Linked DNA regions of Homo sapiens: region 2 is linked to region 1. Evidence: promoter capture Hi-C in human tissues and cell types (Jung and others, 2019). All regions are on one chromosome and are shown on one strand. Each heading gives the region's core, a stretch centred on a gene start or on the middle of the fragment in contact. The rest is flanking DNA. Distances are from core to core; before and after follow the strand shown. Region 1 holds the start of B4GALT5 (beta-1,4-galactosyltransferase 5). Region 2 overlaps B4GALT5 (beta-1,4-galactosyltransferase 5).

Region 1 (3,104 bases), core at 190-2,689:
TATAAAAGACTATGCTTGGGGCAGGCGGGGGAGGGGTGGGAGGGTCAGTTTCTCCAGAGACCGCCTTTCCTTTAAAGGATAAGACTTTGAAAAGAAGGAGTACCCATTACATCTTTCCTCCATGCTCCCCCTTCTCACCTGGTACCATTTCCCAAAGGCCCCAATCATATCCCCTTCTCTACGGACAATTTAAACTTCTCCTTTGTCCGCAGAGCAGGCACTATCCAATACTGAAGAACCACACCATCTACCCTCAAGGCTAGGAGAGGGCAGAAGTGGAAGAAAGAACACAGACAGCACCCCTTCCCCAGGTCTTCAGTTGAGAAAGAAGCTGTGGCTGAAAGTCTGGGGGGCTGGGGGCAAAGGTGACAAGGATGTGCCCTTGTGGGTACGCGAGGTGGGGGGGGGGGAGATGGGGAAGAGGCATGGGACGCTCAGGGGATTAGCAGGAGATTGAATGGGGGTGGACCTCTGTAAGGGGAAGGGGGGTGCCACCGGCAGGCAGAGAGATCAGGCCACTGAAGAGGTGAACGTGAGTTAGGGAGGAGGACCTGGAGGTGGATGTAATAGGGGAAGTAGAGGAAGAAAGGGGAGGGAGGGGGCTCACGGGAGCAGGAAACGATGGAGTCATGGGGAGTGGGGGAGGATGGATGGGAGCTAGAAGGTGGGGCGGCCTGGGACCCGGGCACATGGGCTCGGCGAAGAGCGGGCGCGCCGCGGGGGACTGGGGTGCGGGGAATGCCGGGAATGGGGGTTCGAGGAGACCCCGGGGAAGGGAAGGGGAAGCGGGAGTTCTCGAGCAGAGGAGCGGGAAGTGGGAGTTCCAGCGAGGCAAGAGCGGGAAGGGGGTTCCGGAGCAAGGGGCGGGCGTGAAGGTACAGTCGGGTTCGCGAGGGTGGCGTTAGGAGGGGCGGGGTGGGCCGGAGGCTGGCGCGGGAGAGGGATCCCGGGCGCCTGTTGGGGTGCGGAGGGCAGGAATGTCCTGGCGTCCCCGAGAGCCGGGCCAGGACTCCGGAGTCTTCGGAGGACCAGGCTCAGGGCCGCCTCCCGGCCGGGGCCCCTTAGGGAGGGGCGGGGATTCCCCGGGTCCCTCAAGGCCAGAGCGGCAGCCGCCGCGGTCCCAAGCCCCCTTCCTACCTATGCCGGGCGCCACATAGACGAAGTACAGCAGCGAGGACGAGAGAGAAAAGAAGAAGAGCGCGGCGAGCAGCGAGCGGCGCGGCAGCCGCAGCAGCCCCCGGCGGGCGCGCATGCTGCAGCCAGGCGGCCGCTAGAGAGCCAGGCCGGGCCTGCTCCCGCAGCTCCCCGTCCGCCGCCTCCTGGGCCGCCGCCGCCACCGCCTGGGCCTCGGCCACCGCCTCCCGGGCCTCGCGGGCCGCCACTCGCCGCCGCCGCCGCCTCGCCGCTCCCAGCCGCCGGCCGTCGCGGGCCGGGCCACATGAAGCGGGCGGGGGCCAGAGCGGCCCCGAGCGGGCGCAGCGGCGGGGGCGGAGGCGGGGCGCACGCGCGGGAGGCGGGGCCAGTGCCGCCGGGCACCGTCGCAAAAGACCCGCGCGCTTGCGCTCGCCGCCGACCCTCGCTCGGCGCCCACAGCAGCCCGCATGGAGTAATCGCCAAATGGCGACAGACCCTCTCCCAGTGCGGCCACCGCCCAGGCTTTCGGGGAATGTCTCCCAAGTGCTCCGCGCTAGCTCGTCCCCCATCTCGGGGGCCAAGGGGCCATCTACAAAGTCTGACTCATCTCGTTGCCCACTGCAGCAGAAGAGTGGGGACTGCAAGGCTTGGGGGTTCGGCCTGGTATACACCCTCATTCATTCATTCATTCATTCATTCAATTCACCATTTATTTATTGAATGCCAGACACAGTTGTTGGCGCTGGGCATGCTACAGAGAAAAAAAACGATAAAAATCTCTGTCTACTTGAAACTTACATTATGTGAGAGATAAAAGAAACAAATCAGCTAGTAATATCAGGTACTGGTAACACATATGAATACGATAAAACAGGAGGATGTATTGCAGGCAGGCTGGAGTGGTCAAGGAAGGCCTCACTGAGCAGTGACACGAACTGAGATATAAAAGGGTGAGAAAGCGCCAGCTTTTTTGAATAAGCTGGGGAAAAAGCAGTCATACCAGGGGGAACAGCAGGTGTAAAGGCCCTGAGGTAGGAAAAGGGCTGATCTGCCCCCGAGTTGAATCCAAGGCCAACATGGATAAAATCCAGTGAAGTAGGGGGGGAAATAGGGATGAGCTTGGAGCTGTAGTCAGGGATCCTACTGTATCAGAAATAGCATAATGATAACAATTGTCAATGTCTCTAGACTTCTGCTGAGAAACATGGACTTCACTCATGCCATGAAATTCCCCCACCAGTCTTGAGATGTGTGCTGTTATTATTACTATCATACAAATGAGGAAACTGAGGTTTCTAGATGGAAAGGCAATTCACCCAAGCCTTGCAGTAAGGGCTTAAATCAAAACTGGCCTGTCTCCCATGTCAGGCCCTTGACCTCTAGGTTGTAACTGTCTCAGCAGTCTGTATGACCTCTAATTCTTATCCTGCAGGCAAATCGGTATCCTATCCCCATCACCTGGGTATGGGACCATATCCAAAAAAATGCTTTCAGATCAGCATCAGCTCAAAGGACCTCAGAAGGCAATGAACAGTCCTAGAAATTTATGGCAAGAAGCAGTAGCCTCAAGGAGCTGGACTGAGGAGGCCAGTGTCCCTGTGTAGACATATCTGAAACTAGGGTACTGTCTTGGAATGCCAGAAGCAGTGGGGAGGGGAGAGGACTTTGCAGGGATTCTGTGAGAATCAACAATAATTCTGATTTATATTCCTAAAGTGATTTCTACTTTTTACAGTGTTTCTTTGATCCTTTAAGTGGGGAGTCTAGAGCCACACTGCCCAGGTTCTCTGACTCCCAGCTTTTCCATTGTTAGCTGTGTGACCTCACGCAAGTTAAACTCTCTGTGCCTCGGTAAAATGGAGGAGGTTATTAGCAACCTCATCAGGTTGTTGCGAGGATTTAAGTAATACATGCAAAGTGCACATAGTAAGAGTGCTTAGCTGTCACCTAATTCAATACCCCTGGAGAAT
Region 2 (3,104 bases), core at 448-2,947, 43 kb before region 1:
AAAGGAGAATCACTTGAACCTGGGAGGCGGATGTTGCAGTGAGCTAAGATCGCGCCATTGCACTCCAGCCTGGGCAACAAGAGCGAAACTCCACCTCAAAAAAAAAAAAAAAAAGAATTATAGCTTGGCACACAGATGCTGTGATAGCCGGAGGAGTTGCCTTGCTTTTTTAAGGTAGAAGTATACTGGTTTTTCTGCAACCACAAAAAAAAAGGCTATAAGCCAGAAAAGGTCATAGTGAAACTGATACTTCACCAACTGTGCTGGTGTTCGTGCAGACTGGTATAAACCCTTTGGGAAAACTATTTGCAAATTCAACAATAGCCATAAAAATGCTCATACCTTCTGAGCTAGCAAAGTATCCTAAATATGAGGCTATTCTATGCACAAAGTTTTTACTTACATTATTTCTAAAAGCAAAATCTTGGGAAACAACTCAAAATCAACAACCAGCAGCTCTCAGTGCTGCTCTGCCTGTGGAGTAGCCAGTTTCTTTTCTTCTCTAATAAACTTGCTTTCACTTACTAAAACAACAGCACATAAACTGTGACACAAAACTTGACGGAATCTTACACATCTTTAAAAGTGAAAACTATGCAACCTTATCACCATACACCTTATGTATAATATTTAGCATAGACTATCACATTTTTAACAACATGAAAAAAGTTCTGCTATATCTTGACAACTATTGCTAAGGAATAAGAACATGTATCAGGCTAAAACAGACTTGAGGCAAATTTACCAACCTGCTTTGCTGTTAGGGAGTAACAGTGATGTGAGATGACCTTTTTTCCTTCTGTTTTACCAATGTTCTTTACAACAGTAATGATTTATTTTTTTGAGACAGGGTCTTACTATGTTGCCCAGGCTGGTCTCAAATTCCTGAGCTCAAGAGATCTTCATGCCTTAGCTCCCAAGCAGCTGGGACTACAGGCATGCATCATGGTGTCTGACTGAGTGAGGGTTTAAAAGAATGCAATTCTATAGCAAAAAGTTGAATTTCTTCAACACTGAACTGCTATCTGCCTACAACTAAGTTTCTTCTAACCCTTTGCAAACATGTAACGTAAAATTTTAAGTTGACACTACAAACTGCTTGTCTAAATGAGTCAAAAGACTGATACCTGTTCTACCAAAGCCTCACCAACATTCAGAGGCTTTGGTGGAACAGGTATCCCACACCTTGTTGATGGAAACAAATTGATATAACCTCTAGAGAGGTTGGCAATACAGATCAAAGTGAAATGTTCATACTCTAACCCAGTAGTTCCTACTTTCAGGTATTCATCCTAAAGAAATAATTGGATAAATAACAAATGTGTTCAATACTGTTTATCTCAGTGCTACTTATAAAAGCAAAACTCCAACCTATCTATGCACCAAAAGGGTCTGGAAAAAAAATTATGGCAAAATCAGACCATGACTAACTCAGCTATCACTGAAATAATGATTATTGTTTTAGAAGTACTCACTATTTAAAAATCATACCGTGCAGGCCAGGCACGGTGGCTCATGCCTATAATCCCAGCACTTTGGGAGGCCAAGGTGGGCGGATCACCTGAGGTCAGGAGTTCAAGATCAGCCTGGTCAACATGGCGAAACCCCATCTCTACAAAAAATACAAAAATTAACCGGGTGTGGTGGTGCATGCCTGTAACCCCAGCTACTCAGGAGGCTGAGGTGGATCACTTGAACTTGGGAAGCAGAGGTTGTGGTGAGTTGAAATCATGCCACTACACTCCAGCCTGAGTGACAGAGTGAGACTCTGTCTCAAAAAATAATAATTTTCTGAGATTATGTCTGCATTTGTGCTAAATAATTTACGCTAGGAGCAGTAATAAAAGCAGAGATGAAGCTATTGATTCAAGACGGTATATACATTGTATATATACTACATACAGTATATCACATTTGTGTTAAAGACACAAAGGAAAATATAAGCCTAGAACAGTTTTAGAAATCACTTATCAAGATGTTCAGTGTTTTTTATCTCTGTGTGGCAGAATTACAGGTCATCTGGGTTGTCTTTTCTTTGTTACAATGCAACATTTCCATGAACATCAGAACCCTGTAAGATAAGGAGGTTCTCTGTTCCACTAGTGAAAAACTGCAGTAACCAAATCTGTTTAAATCAACTGACCCAAAATTTCAAAGTTTCCAAAGTTACTGAGAACCCCTTTTCACACAGCATCTACTTTATGAGCACCCTTTAGGAATGCTGCCTTTGGGCAGGGTCTTTTTCTTTTCATTTTTTTTTAAAACAATAATCAATAAATTTTTGTATGGGGTCGGGGGAAGCACAAAAACACAACCTTCTGCCTTAGTAAGAGATTCCTCCCCTCTTCATTGCTCCAGACCCTAATAATTCCCCTAATCTCAAACTGTTATTCTACCCCCAAATTATCCTACCCCAAATGATTCATAATGATCCTAAAGCTCTTGGTGCTTCTAGCTTTAACTTCATCAAGCAAGTTTCCTCTATCTAGCCTACCATCCAAACATATTCTTCCACATACTGTTCTTTGGTCTCCCTCCTGATTCTCTTTTGGAAAGATTATTCTTCATGTCCTATGGGGATAATATATTTTAATCACATTATTGTTAGCCTGGAAGCTTGTAACAGACTAATGGGTTATCTACTCGTTGGGAATTTAAGTGCTTCCAAGAAGGCAGCATTCCAACTGGTATTAACACCCAAACTGTCAAACATAGGAAATCAGAGCCATGCTTTCCATAAAAAGGCAAAAGATGCCAGAGAAAGCACTTGAAAATTTCTAGCTTCTAAGGCACACACACTTAGCAAAACAAAGTCTTTCCTTAACACCTTGTGGGTAATGAAACCCTTCCTCTCCTCCAGATGGCTTGTCTTTTGCATATATCAACTTGTAGTCCTAGAAACGGGTTCTCTGGGCCATGCAGAATGCTGGATTATTTTTCTGTCATCTATTATGACAGACAGACTCTGTCACTTGATCAGACATAAACTTTTCTTTCTTTAGCTAAGTAATGTTCACATTTTAAAGCAATTCAAGACCCAAGTCCACAGAAACAGAAGGGCCAACCTACTCTACAAAGGCACGTTGGAAGAGCATGATTGATGG

What was found. The method cuts DNA at HindIII sites, captures the fragments that hold promoters and counts their contacts. A contact is called where the count stands out against the background at its distance.
Region 2: a fragment that was not itself captured here is called in contact with the fragment with the promoter of B4GALT5 in region 1 in 2 of the 25 tissues and cell types used here (bladder and liver).

Annotation. Positions count from the first base shown.
Region 1 is chr20:49,712,439-49,715,542 of GRCh38, forward strand. It overlaps B4GALT5 (beta-1,4-galactosyltransferase 5), which reads right to left and starts at 1,440. Exons shown (of 9, transcript NM_004776.4): 1 at 1,138-1,440. The coding sequence starts at 1,252. RefSeq lists silencers at 913-1,032, 1,323-1,652. The HindIII fragment of the contact is 30,885 bases long and covers 1-3,104 here.
Region 2 is chr20:49,669,600-49,672,703 of GRCh38, forward strand. All of the region lies in intron 1 of B4GALT5 (beta-1,4-galactosyltransferase 5), which reads right to left. Among named protein-coding and RNA genes, the nearest start is that of B4GALT5, 43 kb to the right of the region's middle. The HindIII fragment of the contact is 5,680 bases long and covers 1-3,104 here.